Linked DNA regions of Homo sapiens: region 1 is linked to region 2. Evidence: promoter capture Hi-C in human tissues and cell types (Jung and others, 2019). All regions are on one chromosome and are shown on one strand. Each heading gives the region's core, a stretch centred on a gene start or on the middle of the fragment in contact. The rest is flanking DNA. Distances are from core to core; before and after follow the strand shown. Region 1 has its middle 74 kb from the start of LPCAT1. Region 2 holds the start of LPCAT1 (lysophosphatidylcholine acyltransferase 1).

Region 1 (4,848 bases), core at 406-2,905, 73 kb after region 2:
CACTTTAAATTATTAAAATCTTCGTTTTGTGCATGTTTAACAATTTTGAGTTATTTTAGTAAATTTGCAAGGGTTCAGTCCCATTTTATTGATATTTGGGTTGTTTCCCATTTTTGCTCTTAATAAATAACACTGTACAGAACATATTTGTGACCATAACTTTAGGATTATTTTCTTAGATTGTAGGCCCCAGACGTGGCCTTTATTGGCTTGCAGGGAATGAACGTAATAGCTCCTAGACTTTTTTTTGAAAGTTATGCAGTTTTAGTCCTGTGTTAATTACCTAATTTTGTTTTGTTTTGTTTGAGACAGAGTTTTGCTGTTGTTGCCCAGGTTGGAGTGCAATGGCGCGATCTCAGCTCACTGCAACCTCTGCCTCCAGGGTTCAAGAGATTCTCCTGTGGAGCTTGCAGTGAGCGGAGTTCGAGCCACTGCACTCCAGCCTGGGCAACAGAGCAAGACTGCCCCTCAAAAAACAAAGAGATTCTCTCGCCTCAGCCTCCCGAGTAGCTGGGACTACAGGCCCCCGCCACCACGCCCAGCTAGTTTTTGTATTTTTAGTAGAGACAGGGTTTCACCATATTGGCCAGACTGGTTTCAAACTCCTGACCTCAGGTGATCCACCTGCCTCAGCCTCCCGAAGTGCTGTGATTGCAGGCGTGAGCCACCGTGCCTGGCCTTAATTTTTTAATTCTATAATTACCACATGTAGGGGTGGGTTGCCCCTCCACACCTGTGGGTGTTTCTCGTAAGGTGGAACGAGAGACTTAGGAAAGAAAAAGACACAGAGACAAAGTATAGAGAAAGAAATAAGGGGACCCGGGGAACCAGCGTTCAGCATATGGAGGATCCCGCCAGCCTCTGAGTTCCCTTAGTATTTATTGATCATTCGTGGGTGTTTCTCCGAGAGCGGGATGTGTCAGGGTCACAAGACAATAGTGGGGAGAGGGTCAGCAGACAAACACGTGAACAAAGGTCTTTGCATCATAGACAATGTAAAGGATTAAGTGCTGTGCTTTTAGATATGCATACACATAAACATCTCAATGCTTTACAAAGCAGTATTGCTGCCCGCAGGTCCCACCTCCAGCCCTAAGGCGGTTTTTCCCTATCTCAGTAGATGGAGCATACAATCGGGTTTTATACCGAGACATTCCATTGCCCAGGGACGGGCAGGAGACAGATGCCTTCCTCTTGTCTCAACTGCAAGAGGCATGCCTTCCTCTTATACTAATCCTCCTCAGCACAGACCCTTCACGGGTGTCGGGCTGGGGGACGGTCAGGTCTTTCCCTTCCCACGAGGCCATATTTCAGACTATCACATGGGGAGAAACCTTGGACAATACCTGGCTTTCCTAGGCAGAGGTGCCTGTGGCCTTCCGCAGTTTTTGTGTCCCTGGGTACTTGAGATTAGGGAGTGGTGATGACTCTTAAGGAGAGTGCTGCCTTCAAGCATCTGTTTAACAAAGCACATCTTGCACCGCCCTTAATCCATTTAACTCTGAGTTGACACAGCACACGTTTCAGAGAGCACGGGGTTGGGGGTAAGGTTATAGATTAACAGAATCTCAAGGCAGAAGAATTTTTCTTAGTACAGAACAAAATGGAGTCTCCTATGTCTACTTCTTTCTACACAGACACAGTAACAATCTGATCTCTCTTGCTTTTCTCCACACCACAAACCCCTTAGTATTAAGCTCCAAGACATATTTTTGTCATATCTTTATTGCTTATAATTTTCTATCTTTAGATATTAAGTATTTGTTGAAAATCCCATGAAAAGCTTTCAGAAATTGGATTGCATTTCTTGCTTATTATACATCCCTTGACTATTTTGTAATTGTGTGTATTTGTGGAGGTCACATGTAAATAAACTTAAAGTGACTCTACTTTGTGAAAATGTGAAACTTCGTGTAGGTACTCAGTAAATCAGTAAATTCTTACTAACGTTAGCCCCCAGCCTAGCTATGGAGGGTGCATGCTGAGCCCGAAGCAGAGAGCTCTGTAATCTCTGCATTCATCACCACCATGAGGAGGCCTCAGAAGCTTCTAGCACTGTTTGCACCTTCCCCACATCACCCCTCCCTGCCTTCCTCACAGTCTTCCTTCTGATCAGAAGACCCTTTCCTTCTTTCTCTGCCTGTCAAAATGCTGCTCACTCTTCAAACCCTAGCTCATATGAAAGTGTCTGGTGTGAGCCCACTTTTATTGAGTTGATTCTGTATCTTTGATACAACTGTATGAGGGTTCTCCAGAGACACAACAAATAGAAGGGAGACGTAAGAAATTGGTTTAAAGGTTCAATTGCTAATCTCATCCAAAAACACCCTTACAGACACGCCCAGAAATAATGCTTAACCATGTATCTGAGCACCTCATGATGCCGTCAAGTTGACAAACAAAATTAACCATCGCAGCAGCCATACATTTAAATATATTTGTACCAGAGAACTTACCTGATTCTACCTGCACTTCAGATGCTTAAGACATGTCTGTTTTCTCCACTTTCCCCAACCAGATTGTGAGTCGCTTTCACCTAAGGTCTTGTTTTTTTTTCCTTTTTCTTTTTCTTTTTTTTTGAGACGGAGTCTCGTTCTGTCACCAGGCTGGAGTGCAGTGGCGCGACCTCGACTCACTGCAACCTTCACCTCCCAGGTTCAAGCGATTCTCCTGCCTCAGCCTCCCGAGTAGCTGGGACTACAGGTGCCCGCCACCATGCCCGGCTCTGGTCTAGTTTTTTTCTTCTTTGAATCCCGTAGGGCCTCAGTGCTGTGCAGCAAGCACATAGTTAAAACTGAAGAAAAATTTCTTGAATAAAAGTAGTTAACGTTTTTATTCTTTACTTCAAGGTATATCTCCATGAATAACCTAAATGATCCCCCAAATTGGAATATCCGGCCTAATTCCAGGGCGGATGGTGGTGATGGAAGCAGGTGGAATTATGCCCTGTTGGTTCCAATGCTGGGATTGGCTGCTTTTCGTAAGTCATGGTTTTCTTAAAATTAGTGTTTTCCAGGCTGAGAGTGTGGAGCCCCGGTGAGGGAGGCAGCATGGTGTGGGAGCCTGAAGGCCGTGACTTTGGGACCTGCCAGGGACAGCCGAGTTTTATCCCCTGCAGTGAACCGTGGGCAAATCACTTAAGCTCTGAGCCTCAGTCTTCCTGTTCACAGGAGATGGATAATCATACTTAACCTCAGCACACTGCAAGGATTAAGTCAGCCAAGGCGTTTAGAAGCATTTTGTGTGGGGTGGGTTTTAATAACTTAGTTCCCTCTGAAGGCTTTGCTGCTCTCAAGTCGGGGAGGAGGTTCCTTATTTCAGGTGCCCTCATAAGGACTGCTGGGGAACAAAACGGGTGTAAAGGAAACCAGTGGGCTGGGCGTGGTGGCTCATACCTGTAACCCCAGCACTCTGCGAGACCCAGGTGGGCAGATCGAGTGACCAGCCTGAGCAACACAGCAAAACCCCGTCTCTACAAAAAATACAAAAATTAGCGAGTCGTGGCGGTGCACACCTGTAGTCCCAGCTACTCAGGAGGCTGAGGTGGGAAGATCAGTGGAGCCTGGGAGGTCGAGGCTGCAGTGAGTGGAGATGGCACCACTTGCCCTCCAGCCTGAGAAACAGGGTTAAAAAAAAAAAAAGAAAACCAGTTTTGGAAAACCAGTGATGTTTAATGTTTAGGAAATCAGTCTTTGGGAGACTTCATCCATGAAATCTCTGCTTGGCCTGGCCAGAAATTCTCTCTAGTTTAGATTGACTTGGCACCACTTTGGGGAACTGTCAGTCACATGCAGACTTACATCCCCACCACACAATCAATTCACTGATGCAGAGGAGTGAGTTTTGTGTTTCTTCACATTCCATGGTTCTGGGCTGGCACTTAGGAACATGAGAAACTGAATAATTGAATGGAAGAAAGGCAAGACTGCCCTCTAGTTGTAGCGATACATTTTGTGTAGCGGCTTTTTATCTGCTTCGATGTCTCAGGTCAGAAGTTTTGCTGTAGAGGAAGAGGAGGCTGGTAAGAGCAGGTGGTTTTTATGATTCAGTGATCTGCGCAGTGCTTGCTTCTTGGTGAAAGACAGGGCAGGTCCACATCCAATCCTAAGGGGCTGCCATGTAAAAAGCTCATCCGCCTGCAGGCTTGGGAAAAAAACCCTTAACACTTGGAGAGGCTACTGTTGCCTGTGGCTAGGGTGAGTGGATTGGAAGGCTTAAAATTACTCTGACTAATGTAATAATTAATTGGCTTTGAGGCTGGGAGAGGCCCTGAAGTGACTCATTTTCCATTTGTTTTTCAGACTCATCTCAAGCTTTTATAGCCTTTCATGATAACTTTCACTTCTGAAATTCTTACCTTCCCTTCTTGGACTTTTGAAATGATGCTTTCTGTCCCTGAAAAGGGTTGAAGAATATTTTTTCTTCCTGGTTTTTTGCTGAGGTAGTGTGGTCAGAGATAACTGTTAACTTGGTGTTCTTGTAAGGATTCTCCAAAGGTGTGTTACGATGTGTTTGAGGTTCTATTGCACATAAGAGCGTAACCAGCCTTCAGTGTAGTCTAGAAGAAGAGGCAGACATATGAATACTTGATAAGCGCTATTGATTGATTGATGAGAGGCTAGTTTTGTCCTGATCACTCGCTTCATTTAGTATTATTATTATTATTATTATTTTTTTTTTTTTTTTGAGACAGTCTTGCCCTGTTGCCAGGCTGGAGTGCAGTGGCGCGATCTCGGCTTGCTACAACCTCCAACTCTCTGGTTCAAGTGATTCTCCTGCCTCAGCCTCCCGAGTAGCTGGGATTACAGGCACCCACCACCACGCCCAGCTAATTTTTGTATTTTTAGT
Region 2 (6,297 bases), core at 508-3,007:
GAGGAAGAAAGCCTGCTGGGAGTGACTCAGGGAGAGTGACCAGGGAGAGAGCCTGGTGGCTGGGTGGGGGTGAGGATTGAAGAGGAGGAATGGTTGAGGGGCACAGAATGAGCGACCGTGTCCCAAGTCCTCCTTTGAGGGGCACAGCACACGGCAGCTGACAGCGTGTGGCAGACAGAGGGCCAGGCAGAGCGGCGGCAGAGGGGCCGGCACCGCCCCAGCCCCAGAGTCCAGCTCCCGACACACAGGGAGACGGGGGCCAGGGCCTGGGAGCCAGGCTGGGGACGACCTCACCCTGTGTGTCACCAGGAGGGGCGGCACCATCGGGCTCTCCTGCTCCCCGTCCCCTTCCATACCCTGAGGACCAGCCGCATCAAGGGGCTTTGAGCAAAAGCAGGCGTCCTGGGAAAATGACAAGCTCAAACTGGCCTCAAGAACTTTTCACTTCAGGGTTCTTTCAGATAAAGTACTTTATGCATTAACAAATCTCCATCTTCCCGGAAATCTATTCTCACAATTGGAAGCGTGCTCCCTACAAACCGGACAGCCCCATAGGCCCCGAAACAGTGCTTGCTTCTAGGAATTATTCTAGAGTCAAAAGTAAGGTCCTCTTGAGAGTGGATCTCAGGTAACTGTAAGCCCAGCTGGCAGCCAGGTAGCCGGAAAAGCCAGGCTGAGCCAGCACATCCCCGGTGCAGCTTCCTGCAGCGAGCGGCCCCCTCCCCACGACGCCCCCGGGTCTCCCCTCACCACTGTCCCATCGCAGGATCTCAGCAAACCGTTCCCTCCCACGTGGCAGCCCAGGTTGCATAAAGTTGATTCGGGTCAGACCAGCCCCGAGAAAGCATCCCTTACAACAGGAGCGAAGCATGCACCCCAGAAGGCAACGTGCGGCCGCAGAGCAGGGAGACCCGTGCGCCTACAGGGGACCCTACAGGGGACCCGCACCGCCCGCGCGCCCTGTCCCGGGCACCACCAGGCCCCGCACACGAGGCTCACCCAGAGCCGCGGTGCCCTCCCGCCCGCGGGCCGCGTCCAGGCAAAGCCGCTCCGGAGTCCCCGGGCTGCGCGCAGGGCCTGCCAAGGCGGGCGGGGCCCGGACCAGGGACGAGCGCGGGGACCGGCGATGCGGGTCCAGCCTCCCGCGGGAGCCGAGGTCGGGGCTCTGGGAGGCAGAGAAAGGGTTGTGGGCCCGGTTCAGGGTGCAGGGGTCTGGGGGGAGGAGCAGAACGCGGGGCGGGGATGGGAAGCGGGGACCCCGAGGAAGGCGCTGAGGGACCAGGATGCGCGTGCGGGCGGCGGGAAGCCGGCGCCGAGACCGAGGCATCGGGTGCGGGCGGCGGGGACGCGAACTGAGGGGCGGCCGCGGGGAGGGAAGGCGCCGCGGCTCGCAGGGCCGCGCCGCGCCCCAGGCCCCCTCCCCGGCCCCTCCTCGGCCGCGCCTCCCTGGCCCCAGCATCCCTGGCGTCCGCGCCGGCTCCCGGGGCCGCGCGCCCTGGGCACCCACCTGGGCCTTCTGCAGGGCGCTGAGGCGCAGCTCGTGCACGAAGGGGTTCCGCCCCGGGGGCGCCAGCAGCCGAGCGTCGCTGGCCCCTGCGCTGGAGGCAGGGGCGGCCCGGGGTCCGCATCCCCGCAGCCTCATGGCCGCGCCGTCCCGCGGCGAGCGCAGCCGAGCTGCCTGGGGCGCCGAGCGGGGCCGGGGCTAGCTGGGCGCGGGTCTCGGGGCGCGGGCCGAGGATGCGCGGCGGCTGGAGCGGGCCGGGCGCGCAGGCGCGGGAGGTGACGTGGGCGGAGCGGGAGCGCCGGCCGGGGCGGGGCGTCCCTGGAAGCCTCGCCTCCCGCCGGCCGGCAGGGGCGGCACCAGCCGGAGTTCCGCTACCTGGTGGTTTCTCTGGGGTCTGTGGGGGGCCGGGGCCGCTGGGGACCGGGGGCGCCTCCTGCAGCCACTGGAGCACAGGGATCCCCGGCAGGGTCTGCGCCAGGAGAAAGGGAGGTCCCCCGGGCCCGCGAGGCTGCCACGTCGTCCCCTTCCGCCGCTCGGCCCGCCTGCTCGCGGGGAGGGAGGAAGGGGCGGGCACGCGTCCAGCTTACGCGCAAGGCGGGCCAGGCCCTGGGTGCCGAGCCCCGGGCTGTTCCGGCGAAGGCCCCACGCCATTCTTCTTATTCGTTGGGCTCCTAGCTCGCACCGGCGACCCTGGAAGCTGCCCCGGGCTGAGGGAGCTTCTTCCAGCCGCGCCTCAGCCCAGGCGACTCCCGCCTGAGGTCCACTCGACCTTAGGACCCCCCAGACCTCGGGATCCCCTCAGATCTCAGGACCCCTCAAGCCTCAGGACCCCCTCAGACCTCAGGACCCCTCCGATCTCAGGACCTCTCAGGCCTCAGGCCCCGCAGGGATGGCCCAGGCAGGAGGCGCACATAGGGGCCCTGACTGTCCGTGCTGGTTGTGCAGGGGCTGCGATGAGATCCCAGCGCTTTCTCACCCGTAGCTGCTTTGGCTCGGGCATTGCCCTTGTGGTGCTCAGGAGCCGTGTGAGGAGCCCCAGGGTGGGGCCCATAATTAGCCGGAGCGAGAGTAGGATGGGCTCCTGCCTCCGGGTGAACACGCTTGGATTTCAGAACTCACGCAGGCCTTCGGTCACAGTGCTCACGGCTTCCTCACCCCGGCTGGCCCTGTTGGTTCCTTCATGGCCAACGGACCTCACCCAGACAGAGCCGGTTTGGGCCACCTGGCCAACCCCCCAGGGTCCTGGCTCCTGGGGATGTCACTGCTGTGTTGGCCCCAGCTGGGCCCCATCCTCAGCAGACGCCAGGGAGTGCCCCGACCCCTCCAATGACCCTGCCTGCGCCCTTGTGGACCTCATAGTGCAGCGGGCTGGCAGAGACCCTTCTGTGTCTGAGACCGGGGTGAGGGCCAGGGGTCTGTGCCATCCACATATCATGCACAGAGAAGGCCCCGGCAGGCCAGACCCGCTGCATGGCCTTATTCCTGCCCCATAAGAGTCCCAGCCCATATTCCTGCCCCATAAGAGTCCCAGCCCATGCCTAGCAGCAGCACCTGTCCCAAGTGCCACACCCACGGGGATGGGGTGAGCCCTGTGTGCTGGTGGGCATTGGTGGCTCTGTGGCCCAGCCACCAGCGTTGCACCCACCTCCTGGGCTTTTAGTGGCCACTTGCTCTGATCCCCAAAACCAGAGCCCAGCACCCGAGGCCACCCAAGGCTCCTCACCGAACTGATCATCAAGAAAGCCCAGGACACAAAGCCTGCCAGCCACAGGGCAGCACCTGCACCCCAGCGATCCAGGCGGCCCCACCTGCTGCCTGAGTGCTCTGGAGAGGAGGGGCCCTAGGGTGTCCCAGTCCTGGGATGAGAGCAGCCTCAGGACTGGACTTGGAGAGCCATGAAAGTGGGGTCCTCCCAGAAGCACAGGCCAGGAAGCGGTGTGTGGCGGAGGGGAAACCTGCTGGAGATGGTGCAGAGCCAGATTCAATGGGGAGAGCTGCCAGAGAGTCATGGCTGTGTCCCCAGAAGATGCAAAAGTCCTAACCCACAGCACCTGTGGCCGCGACCTTATTTGGAAACAGGGTCTTTGCAGATGATCAGGTTAAGAGGAAGTCATTAGGGTGGGCCCTAGTCTGAAATGGCTTGTGTCCCTATAGAGAGGGAGATTCGGTCTCAGAGACAGACACAGAGAGAGCTCCATGGGAAGGCCAGGGTTCTGCTGCTACAGGCAAGCAGTTCCCAGGAGCTGGAGAGGCCTGGAGCAGGTCCTCTCTAGTGCTCTCAGAGGGAGCCTAGGCCTAGGGTGCCATGATCGCAGGCTTCTGGCCTCCAGACTGGGAGAGAATAAATTCCTTCTGCTTTAACCTGCAGAGTGCAAAGTGAGTTGGAACCCAGGGAAGGAGGTGGGGAGGCTGGGGGAAGAACCTCATACTGCCCGGCAATCTAAGCAGGGTCAGCAGGTTGTCCTTGAGCCAAGGTCGGTGGAAAGAGGAGTCCCTCTCCCAGAGGGGTCTTAGGTGGAGCCACTGTGGGCAGCGTGGCCTTGGTGTAGAAGCTCAGTGGATCCTTGGGTCACAGGCACCATGTGGAGGAGGCGCAGAGGCCCAGCTCCGGGGTCAGTACACAAGGGGGCACAGCTGGGAGGGTGGGTGTGACAGGGCCAAGGGCTGTGCAGAGCAGGGGGCAGGACTGGGGCACACTCGTCCTCACCAAGCAGAACCCAAGAAGGCCCCAGAGAGCGGCCAAGGAGCGGAGGTCCCCAGAGGGGCTGAGTCCACGGAACTGCCCCATCCAGGAGGACTGGCCAGGAGAGAACTGGGAAGGCCAGCCAGTGGTAGTAGCAAGGGTGGAGACCACCACCCTGCAGGGTGCTGTGGAGTGGGCAGGAGTTACAGAGGTTCTTTCCCAGCTACCTGAGAAAGGAGGAAGCGTGATGGGCAGGAGGAGGAAAATGGATGCTTGGCGGGAGGCTGGGATCCAGGGCAGCAGCTCAAGGAAGGGGCCCAGGACATGTTCCTGGGTGGAAGGCAACAGGCCAGCCTCACAGGAGACGTTGAAAACCCCTGTGAGAGGGGGTGTCATGGGCCCATCTCAGTCTGGAAGGATTCTGCGCTCAGAGGAAGGAAAGGCCTGGGGCCCGGAGCGGGGACTCCTTCTCTGCTGCAGCTGGAAGGGGTTGGATGGTCCACAGGGCACGTGCCCAGGGGGTGGGGAGCTGGGGCACTCTTGTGTGTGGGAGTCAGTTTTCTCCTGGGGACTGCGAGGGGTGGGGGAGAGGGGCTGCTTATGGGGAAATCAGCGCAAGCGTGGAGGAGCAGCAAGGAAATTCCTCCACCCACACTGGGCCTTCACACTTAGGCTTTGGTTCTGCTATGTAATGGAACGTTCTTAAGACCTGGAGGGTCTGGAAGCTTGACTAAGAGAAGTTGGTCTTGGGTGGGGAGGTATAAGCAGTTTTCTCTGTCTAGCAGGGGAAACATGAGTTTCTCATTAGGACTTAGTTTTGGGAAAACCACCCTAAGGGCCCTTTAGCTACAAAGGGAGCCCCCACTGTGGTTCTCAGGAACCTCCTGGAAGCCCCCCACAGCTCCCTGGGGCTGGTAACCACACCCCTGAGGCTTCTTGCTCTGGTTTTGTCTCTGTTTTAAGAGTGTAAGCTCACAGAGAAGTGTTTCCTATACTCCAAGTGCATTGAGAACACAAGGTACCTGCTTGTTCTGGTAAGGCTGAGTATTTTTGTTTTGTTTGTTTAATTTTTGAATTTTAGAGTTATCTATAGGATAGAAAAAGATATTCTCCTTCATTTTCTACTAACATCTTTTTTCAGTTCTGCCTTTCATGGTTGCATTTTATTCTATTTGAAGATTTTTTTCTCTGCATGGAGACCTGATATTCTCAACACCACGTATCAATCACAGACTCCCACTTGTGGGTCCACTTCCAGCATGAACAGAAAGAAGGGTTCCTGAAGCTCCTTCTGGCTGCCCCATCTCACCCATTGGTCCGTGTACTCCTTTACTCCCGTCTCACCCGCCGGTCCGCGTACTCCTTTACTCCTGTCTCACACCTTTCAACCGTCTGCCTTAGTAACTGTAGAGGGGGTTCCTTCCTGTTGGCGCTTCTTCCCAAGAATTGTAGTAGGAATTCAGGGAATTTTATTTTTCCATCCAAATTTTGGAAGCAGTTGTCCCCATTGCTAAAAATTCCCGCTGGAAGCTTCCTTTTGAATCACATTAATTGTACAGGGTACTTCAGTAAGAATGTTACTTCATTCTTACTGTTCATTCTCCCTGTTCCCTAAGAATGTTACTTCAGTAAGAGCTGGCTGGTCCTGGGAGGGGCCCTCGAAGGGCCAGCAAGGCTCCAAGGCTCCAAGGCTTCAAAGCACTAGAAAATACAAAAAAAAAATTTTTTAAATGGATGATGTGGCATGGACACTTTATAATTTTGAGAACGATTTTTCACCAACATGGTTATTCTACCATTTATTTAGATGTTCTTTCATGCCCTTTGATAGCATTTTAAATTTTTCTACATAAAGATTCTGTATTTTTGTTAATTCCTTGATGCTTCATACTTCTGCAGTGATGTAATAATCGTTTCAAAAATTACTCTTGGGCCGGGCGCGGTGGCTCATGCCTGTAATCTCAGCACTTTGGGACGCCGAGGTGGGCGGATCATCTGAGGTCAGGAGTTCGAGACCAGCCTGGCCAACATGGCAAAACCCCATCTCTACTAAAAATATGACAATTAGCCAGGTGTGGTGGCACACGCCTGTAGTCCCAGCTACCCGGGA

The links. The method cuts DNA at HindIII sites, captures the fragments that hold promoters and counts their contacts. A contact is called where the count stands out against the background at its distance.
Region 1: a fragment that was not itself captured here is called in contact with the fragment with the promoter of LPCAT1 in region 2 in 2 of the 25 tissues and cell types used here (bladder and mesenchymal stem cells).

Annotation. Positions count from the first base shown.
Region 1 is chr5:1,595,270-1,600,117 of GRCh38, forward strand. It overlaps the pseudogene PDCD6P1. Among named protein-coding and RNA genes, the nearest start is that of LPCAT1, 74 kb to the left of the region's middle. The HindIII fragment of the contact is 3,047 bases long and covers 133-3,179 here.
Region 2 is chr5:1,522,203-1,528,499 of GRCh38, forward strand. LPCAT1 (lysophosphatidylcholine acyltransferase 1) reads right to left here and starts at 1,758. Exons shown (of 14, transcript NM_024830.5): 1 at 1,508-1,758. The coding sequence starts at 1,642. RefSeq lists silencers at 946-1,145, 1,416-1,725, 1,746-2,145 and a cis regulatory region at 2,915-3,150. The HindIII fragment of the contact is 8,437 bases long and covers 1-5,314 here.